Linked DNA regions of Homo sapiens: all the other regions are linked to region 1. The links are contacts of gene promoters, found by promoter capture Hi-C in human tissues and cell types (Jung and others, 2019). All regions are on one chromosome and are shown on one strand. Each heading gives the region's core, a stretch centred on a gene start or on the middle of the fragment in contact. The rest is flanking DNA. Distances are from core to core; before and after follow the strand shown.

Region 1 (2,514 bases), core at 6-2,505:
TCCATCTCTTCTGCTCCATCCTCGCAACTTATTTAACCTCTTATTGCTCCTTCTCCCCAATCTTTCAATCGTCCTCAATCTCCATCTATTTCTGCCTCTTCACCCATCTCTGCGCCTCCTCTGCTCTCCCTGTTAAATTCTCTCTTCCCTGATATACTCCCCTGTCCCCACTCTGTGTCACCCCAGATCCCCAGGTGTCCTCCCTGCTGTGTTTCTCCCTCGGTTCTCCTTGACACCAGCACCACTCTGCTCTGTCTGCCCTGGCTCCAAATCCCTCCCTCTCTCCCTCACTCTGATGAGCCTCCCTCTTTGCTGCCACTCTCCCTACCTTGCCGTCCTTCATCTCTGTGTACATCTAGCTTTTCTCTACATTTCTCCAGTTGCTTTTCTCCACCTGCTTTTCTAGGTATTTTGTTGCTTTCTTTTTCCACTTTCACCATATCTTGGCATATCCCTCACCAATCCTCTATTTTGCCATCTGTTATGGGCCTTTCTTATTCTTTCTCTGTCTCAGGTTTTCTACTGCTGTCTGTCTCCTGATCCCTTCGGCCCACACAATCGCAGGAGGGTTTGGAGTAAGACGCCTGCATCCCGGAGGAGCGCGTTTTCCAAGGGCTGGAGCTCGGCAGGCAAGAAGACCCCATGTCACAGGACAGGGCCCTGCGTCCTTCCCAGTGTGGGTTCAATGGAAGCGGTGACTGCGGAGGAGAGACCTGGGGAGCCGCAGGCTCTGGCACGAGTAGGGAGGTGGGAGGAGGGGGGACGGCGCCTTGGGAGAAGGATGGGGTCTGCAAGATCCCAGGACCAGGCAGAGGACGCGGCCTCCCTGGGACTGGGGCTGCGGCGCGACGCTCCAGGGGCCGACGAGGGGTGGCTGGGAGGTGCGCCCCGGGCAAGAATCCACCTCGTGGGTGAAGACTTTAAATAGCGCGAGGAGGGAAGAGTCAGAAGAAGGTTTTGAGCAGAAAAACTACGCAATAGAAAGTGTATACATTGCCCTATAGCAGACAGACCCGGGACGGGACCAGCCTCCAGACGACTTTAAACCCGAAAGGAAGCGACACCCGGCCTCTCACTGGGCTGTCTCAATTTGCTCTGGGCGAAGGAAGACGGGCGAGAATTTCCAGGTCTGTGGGGACCCCACGTCCCAGGGACAGAAGCGGCGGGGACCTGGGAAGCGGAGACTTAATGCAACACAGAGCAAAACTCACCATGGCGACGTGACCTTCACTCCACCCGATCCGCTTCCGGGTTTGCGTTAATCTCCGCGCGCAGGACGGAAGCCAGGCCTGGGCGGGAGGTGGGAGGAGGTGGGCGGGGCCTGGGCGAGGTAGCGGCGGGGCGCGAGGCGCTGAGACCTTGCCCTTTAGAACCGGCAGAGGGCGGGGCCGGGGCGGGGCCGGGGCGGGACTTGCGCGTCTTTCAGCCTCTCTCCTAGCGTCTCTGTTTTTAGGTTGTGGAGGCGAGAGCGCCAGAAAGTCTGAGGCATGATTCCAAAGCCCTGGAATTGTCTGGAACCGGGATGCAAACTAGAATGTGAAATGCAAAGCCCTGCCTGGGCGGCATGTACGATGTCATGGTGACGGCCCACGGAACAGAATAGATGTCCTCTCCCTTTCTATCTCCATTCACTAGGGAGGGAGAGTCCACCCTGAGCTCAGCTTCAGAGACTTCCTTAAAGCCACCGCCAGGGGTGCGGGACGGAGTGCTTAGGCCAGGAAGGAGTGAGGTCACCACCTGCTGCTTAAACACAGCAGAGGCGCGGGGGCGGGAGCCTCAGGTCCCAGCTACTCAGGAAGCAACGGAGAGAATTGCTGAGCCTGGGGTCCCAAGCCAGCCTGGGCGACAAAGTAACACCCACTGCGGCAGGTCTCCCTTCCTAGTCTCTCTCTCTCTCTTTCCCTTTTTTTTTTTTTGGAGACAGAGTCTCACTCCGTCGCCCAGGCTGGAGTGCCGTGGAGTGATCCCAGCTCACTAGAACTTCCGCCTCCTGGTTTCAAGCGATACTCCGGCCTCAGCCTCCCGAGTAGCTGGGACTACAGGCATGCGCCACCATGCCCAGTTAATTTTGTATATTTAGTAGAGACAGGGTTTCACCATGTTAGCCAGGCTGAACTCCCGACCTCAGGTGATCCGCCCACGTCGGCCTCCCAAAGTGCTGGGATTACAGGCGTGAGCCACCGCGCCCGGGCCTTTTCCCTTTTTAAAAAAAAAAAAAAAACTTTTTTAAATAAAATTTTTGATGGTGTGACATAGGGATCCAACATTACTCTTTTCCATGTGGATATCCAGTTAGTTGTCCCAGCACATTTGTGGAAGAGATCTATTACTTTATTATTATTATTATTATTATTACTATTATTGAGACACAGTATTTCTGTTGCCCAGGCTGGAGTGCAGTGGCGAGATCTCAACTCAATGCAGCCTCTGCCTCCTGGGTTCAAGCGATTCTCCTGCCTCAGCCTCGGGAGCAGCTGGCATTACAGGCGCGTGCCACGATGCCCGGTTAATTTT
Region 2 (2,514 bases), core at 5-2,504, 130 kb before region 1:
TCTAAGCAGAGATGCCCCTGGTAGCCCTGAGCAGAATTGTCAGGGTGGCCCAGGAGATGAGCTAGAAAGCATGACAGTGACTGACAAGTGTTTCCAGCTGTGATTCTGCTTTTGTTTTGTTTTGTTTTTTGAGACAGAGTCTCCCTCTCTTGCTCAGGCTGGAGTGCACTGTTGTGATCTCAGCTCATTGCAACCTCCGCCTCCTGCATTCAAGCAATTCTCATACCTCAGCCTCCCAACCTAACTGGAATTACAGATGCAAGTCACCATGCCTTGCTAATTTTTGTATTTTTATTAGAGATGGGGAATCACCATGTTGGCCAGGCTGGTCTCAAACTCCTTGTCTCAAGCAATCTGCCCACCTCAGCCTCTAGCCAAGTGTTGGGATTACAAACCTGAGCCACCACCCTTGGCCTTTTGTTCTGGTTTTTAAGGAGCATCACAGAAGCATCTCTCACTGGTACTGTGACAGTGATCATCACATAAACTAATGATCATGTTCTCTAAACAGCAGTCACTGCTGTAGAAATTCCTCTTAGGGAGGACATCATTCAGGCTTACTGCATCATATATATGAGGCTCTTGACTGAACTCTGTTTGACATGGAATTTTGCTCTTGTTGCCCAGGCTGGAGTGCAATGATGTGATCTCTGTTCACTGCAATCTCTGCCTCCTAGGTTCAAGAAATTCTCCTGCCTCAGCGTCCTGAGTAGCTGGGATTACAGGCATCCACCACCATGCCTGGCTAATTTTTGTATTTTTAATAGAGACAGGGTGTTCTTAAACTTTGAAGATCATATTTGGGAATTTTAAAATAAGTATTGCTTTTTGTGTAATATTAACACATTTCAGTATTAAATATTATTTACCATCTGTACTTAATTGGAAACCTATTGGTCTTTATATTTTTTAGATAGCTCTTTAAAATCCATGACGGAGTTCTCATCAACAGGGCACGGTAATACAGGAGAAGTGATCCACACAGGGACATTGCAAAGACATAAAAGTCATCACATTGGAGATTTTTGCTTCCCAGAAATCAAGAAAGATATTCATGACTTTGAGTTTCAGTGGCAAGAAATTAAAAGAAATGGCCATGAAGCACCCATGACAAAAATCAAAAAGTTGACTGGTAGTACAGACCGACGTGATCAAAGGCATGCTGGAAACAAGCCTATTAAAGATCAGCTTGGATCAAGCTTTTATTCACATCTGCCTGAACTGCACGAATTTCAGACTGAAGGGAAAATTGATAATCAAGTGGAGAAGTCTATCAACAATGCTTCCTTGGTTTCAACATCCCAAAGAATTTCTTGTAGGCTCAAAACCCATATTTCTAATAGGTATGGGAAGAACTTTCTCCATTCTTCATTATTGACACAAATCCAGGAAGAACACATGAGAGAAAAACCTTTCCAATGTAATGAGTGTGGCAAAGCCTTTAATTATAGCTCACATTTAAGAAGACATCATGTAACCCATTCAGGAGAGAAACAATATAAATGTGATGTATGTGGCAAAGTGTTTCATCAAAAGCAATACCTTGCATGGCACCATAGAGTTCATACTGGAGAAAAACCTTACAAGTGTAATGAGTGTTCCAAGACCTTCGGTCACAAGTCATCTCTTACACGCCATCATAGACTTCATACTGGAGAAAAACCTTACAAGTGTAATGAGTGTGGTAAGACCTTCAGTCAGACGTCATCCCTTGTAGGGCATCGTAGACGTCATACTGGAGAGAAACCTTACAAATGTGAAGGATGTGACAAAGTTTACAGTTGCAGATCACAACTTGAAACACATAGGCGAATTCATACTGGAGAGAAACCATACAAATGTAAGGTTTGTGACAAAGCTTTTAGGCATAATTCATGCCTTTCACGCCATAACAGAGTTCATACTGAAGAGAAACCTTACACATGTAATGAATGTGGCAAGGTTTTCCAGCGTGATTCATACCTTGCACAACATCAGAGAGTTCATACTGGAGAGAAACCTTACACATGTAATGAATGTGGTAAGGTTTTTAATCAAAAAGCACACCTTGCATGTCATTATAGGCTTCATACTGGAGAGAAACCTTACAAGTGTAATGAGTGTGGCAAGACCTTCAGTCAGAAGTCATCCCTTGTGGGCCATCGTAGACTTCATACCGGAGAAAAACCTTACAACTGTCATGAGTGTGGCAAGACCTTTGCTCGAAATTCATCCCTTCTAATTCATAAGGCAATTCATACTGGAGAGAAACCTTACAAGTGTAATGAATGTGGCAAGGTTTTTAATCAACAGTCAAACCTTGCACAACATCAGAGAGTTCATACTGGAGAGAAACCTTACAGGTGTAATGAGTGTGGCAAGACCTTCAGTCATATGTCATCCTTTGTATACCATTATAGACTTCATAGTGGAGAGAAACCTTACAAGTGCAATGAGTGTGGCAAGACCTTCAGTCATATGTCATCCTTTGTATGCCATCATAGACTTCATACTGGAGAAAATCCTTATAAGTGC
Region 3 (2,514 bases), core at 8-2,507, 110 kb after region 1:
GCAGGTACTGCTGTTCAATGGAGAAGGTGGCTACCTTTTTCCTTGCATTATTTCTACCATATAATCAGACACTAGCAACCTATTACTCTCTTCCCACTAATAACCTATGCCTTAAGATTACAGCATACTCTATTTCATGGTCAGTTGGTGGACACTGAAGCTCTGTGCACTTATGTCAGGAGAAAGTGTGCTAACTGCAACAGTATGATGACGGTCATCAGTTTTATGTTACTCTGCCCACCTCCATGCTCTCTAAATCAGACAATATTTAATCTCAAAAGGCAATGTCCTTCATCAGGAAATTGGATAGAAATAATCCTCAGCTAATGAAGTCAGCCCTGTCATCCTACTGATTCTTTCCCAGGGACCACAGTGAATGGCCTGTATGGAAGGCACATGAAAAGATTTCGAAGTCACAAAGAGTAAAGTAGCCTTTTCTATAAGCCCCAAATAATTGAATGCTTTATAGCCTGAATAAAACTGGTCATTTACAAGCCGTTGCACCTTTGATATACATCAGGTCATGAGATTCAACATATTTTGACTTAGCATTATTCTGCATCATGCAATATCATAGATTAGTATCAGAGAACCAGAGACAGAGTTACTTCTTGTGTAAATCCTATCGTGTTCTATAGCAATGGTCCTTGAATAATAGCCCAAGTACACACAATTCATCTGTGTGCTTTCATCCTCCACAGTGATGTGGTGATGTCCAGTGATTTGGCAGGCCTTGATAAAGCCTGTGTCACATACATTTCATTTATATGATTTCCACTTAGTATGGACTCACTGATGTTGATTAATGCTAGAACTCATGATGATGGTTTTGCCATACAGTTTGTAGGGACTCTCATGAATGAACTCTCTGATGCTGTGCAAGGTCAGAATTGTGACTGAAGACCTTACTGCACAGGGTGCATTTGTAAGGTTTCTCTCCAATGTGAATTCTATGGTGATTGGTGAGGGAAGACTTCTGAGTGAAGATCTTGCCACATTCTTTACACTCATGAGATTTCTTTTCAGTATGGATTGCAAGATGGGCAGTAAGGCCTGAACACCCTCGAAATGCTTTGCCACATTTACTACATCTGTAAGGCCTCTCTCCAGTATGAATTATTTGATGTCTTGTAAGGTATGATGCTTGATTAAAGACCTTGCCACATTGATTACATTTGTAAGGCTTTTCTCCTGTATGAATTTTCTGATGGCATACCAGGTTTGAACTGCGACTGAAGACCTTGCCACATCTGTTACATTTGTAAGGCTTCTCTCCAGTATGAATTCTATGATGACTGGTTAGAGAAGACTTGTACCTGAAGACTTTGCCACATTCTTTACATTCATAAGGTTTCTCTCCACTATGGATTAGAAAATGGGCAGTAAGGTCTGAAAACTCTCTAAACGCTGTGCCACATTTATTACATTTGTAAGGCTTCTCATCAGTATGAGTTTTTCGATGTCGTATAAGGTCTGATTTCTGACTAAAGATCTTGCCACACTGACTGCATCCATAAGGTCTCTCTCTAGTATGAATTCTCTGATGAGAGGTCAGGAAACACTTGCGCCCAAAGACCTTGTCACATTCTTTACATTTGTAAGGTTTCCTTCCAGTGTGAATTAACTGATGGGTTATGAGGCTGGAACGCACTGAAAATGCTTTGCCACATTCTTCACATTTGTAAGGTTTCTCACCAGTATGAACCGTTTGATGTTCTGCTAGATATGAATGGCGACTAAAGACCTTGCCACATTTATTACAACTGTAAGGTTTCTCTCCAGTATGAATTTTTTGATGTCGTACAAGGTGTGCAATTTGATTGAAGACCTTGTCACATTCATGACATTTGTAAGGCTTCTCTCCAGTATGAATTCTTTGATGTTGTGCAAGCTTTGAACTGCTTCGAAAGACCTTGTCACATTCATGACATTTGTAAGGCTTCTCTCCAGTATGAATTCTTTGATGTTGTGAAAGGTTTGAATTGCTACTGAAGAGCTTGCCACATTCATGACATTTGTAAGGCTTCTCTCCAGTATGCATTCTTCGATGTATCACAAGCTTTGAACTGCAACTAAAGACCTTGCCACATTCACTGCATTTGTAAGGATTATCTGCGTTATGGATTACTTGGTTAGTAAGGCTTGCAGATGCTCTAAAGACTTGGCCGTGCTCATTACATTTATAAGCTTTTTCCCTAATGTGTGCTTTCTGTTCTTGTGGAAGTAATGGAGCATGATCAAAATTATTTCTATATTTATTTAAAAGGTGGGATTTGACACTGGAAGAAATTTTTTCAAGCGGTGAAACTGAGGAATTGTCACTGACGGGTTTTTCAAAATGCTTACACCCAGAAATTTTCCTTTCAGCTTGAAATAGCTGTAGATCACTCAGATGTAACTGAAAAGTGAATCCAAGTTGATTTTTACAAGGCTTGTTTCCTGCATTACTTCCCAATTTAGAGCTCCTCTCTAAAACAGAAAGAAAAAAGTGGAACTTCAACCCATGATAATGGC
Region 4 (2,514 bases), core at 15-2,514, 92 kb after region 1:
CCATTACTAAAATTAGCCCAAAGACATTCACACAGGGACATAATATAAGGAAATTATCAAAAGTCAAAGAGAGACAGAGACAAAGTTTGATAGCATCAACAAAAAAAGAGACTTGACATATAATAGGAAACTGTATAAGTCTATGTGTATTTTTCCAGCAGGTATCTTCAGGGTAGAAGGCAGTGAAGTGATACTGAAAGTGCTTAAAGAAAAATAAGGGCCGGGCACGGTGACTCATGCTTGTAATCCCAGAACTTTGGGAGGCTGAGGTGTGTGGATCATGAGGTCAGGAGATTGAGAACATCCTGGCTAACACGGTGAAACCCCGTCTCTACTAAAAATACAAAAAAAATTAGCCAGGCATGGTGGCGGGAGCCTGTAGTCCCAGCTACTTGGGAGGTTGAAGCAGAAGAATGGCGTGAACCCAGGAGGCAGAGCTTGCAGTGAGCCAAGATCATGCCACTGTACTCCAGCCTGGGTGACAGAGTGAGACGGTCTCAAAAAAAAAAAAAAAAAGAAGAAGAAGAAAAATAAGAAAAACATCAATGAAGAATACTATATTTAGTAAAACTCATCTACAAAAATAATTCAGGCTTTCCTAGATAAAGAAGAACTGAGAAAGTTAATTAGAACTCAAAAATCATTATGTGAGGCTGGGCACAGTGGCTCATGCCTGTAATCCCAGCACTTTGGGAGGCTGAGGTGGGTGGATCACTTGAGGTCAGGAGTTCAAGTACAGCCTGGGTAATATGGCAATACTCCATCTCTACTAAAAATACAAAAAACTAGATAGGCATGGTGGTGTACACACAGAGTCCCAGCTATTCAGAAGGCTGAGGTGGGAGAATCACGTGAGCCCCAGAAGGTGAGGCTGCAGCCAGCCATAATCATGCCACTGCACTCCAGCCTGGGTGACAGGAGAGAGACGCTATCTCAAAACAGAAAAAAGAAAATGAAAAATGTCTGTTCACAACTCAAAGGATTTCAGCTTTGGTTTTCCCACAGAATTCACCCACTTGCAGAGTTTCCCAAACACTATGTAATAGTGTGGCTCTGCAGAGTATAGTGGCTCAAGCCTGTAATCCCAACACTTTGGAAGACCAAGCCAGAAGGATCCCTTAAGTCCAGGAGTTTAAGGCTGCTGTGAGCTATGATTGCCACTGTACTCCAGCCTGGATGACAGAGTGAGACCCTTCTCAAAATACAAAAATTATGGGGCCTCCACTCTGCCCACCTGAGCTCTCACCTGTGTTCACACCTTTGATGCACTCCCTGCCATCTGGATTGTTTATTATTTTCACTTCACTCTGCAGAGTCCAGGGATCTCTCTTTTGCTCCAACATGGAGGTAACACTCAGGTCAGGAAGACAGATTCCTACTTACAAAAAGAAAGAATAAATGTGTGCTGTGGCATCTCCAAAGTCCAAGCCCTATATTTAGGTAGGAGACAGCATATTACAAATTAATCAAGAATAATATTTCACAAATTCAACCACTGATTGCATCCTTCTGAATGCTAAGGGAACATTGTAACATGTAGACGTCAAGCCCCCTTTCAAGAACTACTGAATCAAAAGCACATGGGTAGAAAACAGGGAACTGGATATTTTTTAAGTCTGTCATAAGGTTTCATGCACACTTCAGCCCTGGTGCCATCAATGATGAATCATGAAGGAAGCAGAATATCTGAAGAAAGGGGACATTTCTTTCTTTTTTTTTTTTTTTGAGACAGAGTCTCACTCTGTTGCCCAGGCTTGAGTGCAGTGGCATGATCTCAGCTCACTGCAGCCCCTGCCTCCCAGGTTCAAGTGATTCTCCTGCCTCAGTCTCCCGAGTAGCTGGGACTACAGGCATGTACCACCATGCCTAACTAATCTTTGTATTTTTAGTATGGATGGGGTTTCACCAGGTTGGTCAGGCTGGTGTAAGGGGACATTTCAAGTTCAGAAAGCATAATGCTTTTCATTTCTTTTTTTTTTTTTTTTTTTTTTGAGACGGAGTCTTGATCTGTCACCCAGGCTGGAGTGCAGTGGTGCGATCTTGGCTCACTGCAAGCTCCGCCTCCCGGGTTCACGCCATTCTCCTGTCTCAGCCTCCCGAGTAGCTGGGACTACAGGCACCCTTTTTTGTATCTTTAGTAGAGATGGGGTTTCACCGTGGTCTCGATCTCCTGACCTCGTGAACCATTTGCCTCGGCCTCCCAAAGTGCTGGGATTACAGGCGTGAGCCACTGCGCCTGGCCTGCTTTTCATTTCTTAGTCAACAGGTTTCAATCTCAGTCAAGCAATGCAGGGGCTCCCGAGAGACACACAAGAGAAAATGCAAAAAGATATACCAGAGCAGATGCAGGCTTCTGGACGGACATTATCCTCACCTAGGGAGACCAGGTTCCTGTAGTTCTCTAACATCACGTCCCTGTATAAAGCTTTCTGCCCAGGGTCCAGGCATTTCCACTCCTCCTGAGAGAATTCTATGGCCACATCGCTGAATGACAATTGCCCCTAAAAGGAAATC
Region 5 (2,514 bases), core at 5-2,504, 74 kb after region 1:
CTTACACTATCTACAAGGAGATAGTGTCAGATCCCATGGGTGAAAAGCTCAGTCCCACAAGACTACCCTTCACCTTAGAAGCTGTACACAAGTAGTAGTTTTCACCTCTACTTCTGACTGACCAGATAAACACCACGGTTCCCAAATCCTCTCCTGCATTCAACTAATTTTCTAGAACTGCTATTCCATCTGTCTATCTGCAACCTTTGTAATATCCTTTAAAACAAATGAGTAAACCCAACTAAAACGTTTCTGAGTTCTGTGAGCTACTCTGGCAAATTAATAAATACTGAAGACTGGGTCATGGGAATCCTCAATTTATATCCAGTAGCTTAGAAGTTCAGGTTCCAATCTGGGACTTGTAACCGACATCTGAAGTGGAGAAGTCTTGTGGACTGAGCCTTTAATCTGTGGGATCCGATGCTTACACCAGGTACAGCTGTCAGAAGTGAGGTAAATTATGGGACACCGAGTTGATGTCTGATAGAGAACTGCTTGTTAGTGGGGAGAAATCCCCACACATTCGGTGACCACAAGTGAAGTATTCTGGGTTCAGTGTTTACTACCGTGTTGAGTTTCAGAGGAGGAAAGAATAAATCAATCGTTTTTCCTCTGGAAGAGCACATTTTCCAGCGGGTGCAATTTGGAACGGAAAAACACTGAGTGTCAAAAGCCAGGCCCCGTCACCTCCCTCAATGCGGGGTAAGGAATGTGGGTTGTGAAGGGGAAACCTGGGGAACACAAGGGCCCAGCCCAAGGAGGACAAGGTTGGGGGTGGATTAGGAGAGGGGTGGGGTTTCCAAAATCCCAGGGCCGGGCAGAGGACACGGCGCTGATGCATCGAGACTGCGGGACCGAGCTCCAAGAGGCCAGAAGGGCGAGGCTTGGAGGACCCACTGGGCGTGAATACACCTCATGGGTGAGGGCTTTTACATGACGCGGGACCGAAGGAGTGGTCAGTAAAGGGTTTTAAGCAGGTAAACGGGACGAAAAGCGTCTACGTGGCCCGAAGGCAGAGAGCTCAGGGAAAGGACCAGCAGCCTCCAAGCGATTTTAACCTCCGAATTTCTTGGCGACGTATTAATATACCTAGGATGGAGGGAACGGCGGGAGGATTTTAAGATCCGTAAGAACCCCTCCGCCAACACCAGGTACAGAAGCGCTGGAAGCGGATCTAATCTAGACAAAGGGAAACTCACCCGCTGCTCCAAGACCGGCTCCCCACGCGATCGGCTTCCGGGTCTTCAGGAAACTGCGCTTGCGAGTTCACGCCCCATGATTCACTTCCGGGTTTCCAGGAAACCGCGCGCAGCTGAGGCCAGGGATGGGCGAGACCCGAGAGAAGAGAGGGTGGGGCGGTGAGGGGCGGGGTCTGCGCTGCCTTCGGCCTGTCTCTGGGCGCGTCTGTTCTCCAGGTTTTTGAGGAAAGACCCTATCGGTGACCAGCAGCCAAGCAGTCTGGGACCTGGGATCTCTATGAGAGGGTCAAAGTAGGGGACAGTGATTGGACCTAAGATAGTTCCTGCAATTAAAGTTAATTTTAGTATTTTAATTTAAAAGCCCTGGAATTGTCTGGGAGAGGAAGCGAACTAGAATATGAAATGCAAAGCCCTGCCTGGGCGGAACATGCAATTTGATGCTGTCGTCCCACAGAACAGAGTAGAAATCCTCTCCTTTTCTATTCCCCCTACACTCTGGAGGGTGAGGATCAACCCTGTGCTCAGCTCCTGACAATTTCCCAGGGACAACGCCTTGGGCATGGAGGGTTAACGCCAGGGATAAGTTAGGTCACCAAATGTTGCTTTTAAAAAGGAAAGCTAAAACTTTTAGATGATAGATATAAATGACTCTTAAACTTTTAAACAATAGATATAAATAGCTCTCCCTTATACCTGTTACTCTATTCCAAACTTCAGATGAATTAACCTCAAACGTCTCTGCGATAAACTTTATTGACATCATAATGTCAATAATTTCGATACGTAGAGTGAATTTCAAATTTACACGCACTCTGAATGTAAATAGAAAAGACGATTTTTGGCTGGGTGTGTTGGCTCATGTTTCTAATCCTAGCACTTTGGGAGGCTGAGATGGGAGGATCACTTGAGGCTAAATGTTCAAGACTAGCCTGGGCAACAGAGTGAGTCCCAGTCTCTCTTATAAAACACACAGGGCCAGGCACGTTGGCTCACGCCTGTAATCCCAGCACTTTGCGAGGCCGAGGCGGGCGGATCACCTGAGGTTGGGAGTTGGAGACCAGCCTGACCAACATGGAGAAATCCTGTGTCTTCTAAAAATACAAAATTAGCCGGGCGTGGTGGCGCATGCCTGTAATCCCAGTTACTCGGGAGGCTGAGGCAGGAGAATTGCTTGAACCCAGGAGTTGGAAGGTGCGGTGAGCAGAGATCGGGCCATTGCCATCCAGCCTGGGCAACAAGAGTGAAATTCCGTCTCCAAAAAAACAAAACAAAAAAAAGAAAACACACACACGCACAAAACAAAAACAAACTTTTT

What was found. Contacts are between HindIII fragments. The study calls those that stand out against the background at their distance.
Region 2: a contact is called between a fragment that was not itself captured here and the fragment with the promoter of ZNF808 in region 1, in 3 of the 25 tissues and cell types used here (IMR-90 fibroblasts, aorta and mesenchymal stem cells).
Region 3: a fragment that was not itself captured here is called in contact with the fragment with the promoter of ZNF808 in region 1 in 2 of the 25 tissues and cell types used here (adrenal gland and mesenchymal stem cells).
Region 4: a fragment that was not itself captured here is called in contact with the fragment with the promoter of ZNF808 in region 1 in 2 of the 25 tissues and cell types used here (adrenal gland and pancreas).
Region 5: a contact is called between the fragment with the promoter of ZNF578 here and the fragment with the promoter of ZNF808 in region 1, in 1 of the 25 tissues and cell types used here (stomach).

Annotation. Positions count from the first base shown.
Region 1 is chr19:52,526,409-52,528,922 of GRCh38, reverse strand. ZNF808 (zinc finger protein 808) reads right to left here and starts at 1,255. Exons shown (of 5, transcript NM_001039886.4): 1 at 1,212-1,255. RefSeq lists enhancers at 982-1,809, 1,810-2,514. The HindIII fragment of the contact is 14,459 bases long and covers 1-2,514 here.
Region 2 is chr19:52,652,803-52,655,316 of GRCh38, reverse strand. LOC122539214 (Zinc finger protein LOC122539214) reads left to right here. Exons shown (of 4, transcript NM_001396016.1): 4 at 914-2,514. It also overlaps a transcript of ZNF83 not described here. Among named protein-coding and RNA genes, the nearest start is that of ZNF83, 16 kb to the right of the region's middle. The HindIII fragment of the contact is 5,670 bases long and covers 1-2,514 here.
Region 3 is chr19:52,415,079-52,417,592 of GRCh38, reverse strand. ZNF528 (zinc finger protein 528) reads right to left here. Exons shown (of 7, transcript NM_032423.3): 7 at 1-2,469. The coding sequence ends at 854. Among named protein-coding and RNA genes, the nearest start is that of ZNF534, 13 kb to the left of the region's middle. The HindIII fragment of the contact is 3,304 bases long and covers 1-2,514 here.
Region 4 is chr19:52,433,942-52,436,455 of GRCh38, reverse strand. ZNF534 (zinc finger protein 534) reads right to left here. Exons shown (of 5, transcript NM_001143938.3): 3 at 2,375-2,501; 4 at 1,247-1,375. Among named protein-coding and RNA genes, the nearest start is that of ZNF534, 6.1 kb to the right of the region's middle. The HindIII fragment of the contact is 3,304 bases long and covers 1-2,514 here.
Region 5 is chr19:52,452,293-52,454,806 of GRCh38, reverse strand. ZNF578 (zinc finger protein 578) reads right to left here and starts at 1,254. Exons shown (of 6, transcript NM_001099694.2): 1 at 1,200-1,254. RefSeq lists an enhancer at 613-1,812. The HindIII fragment of the contact is 17,654 bases long and covers 1-2,514 here.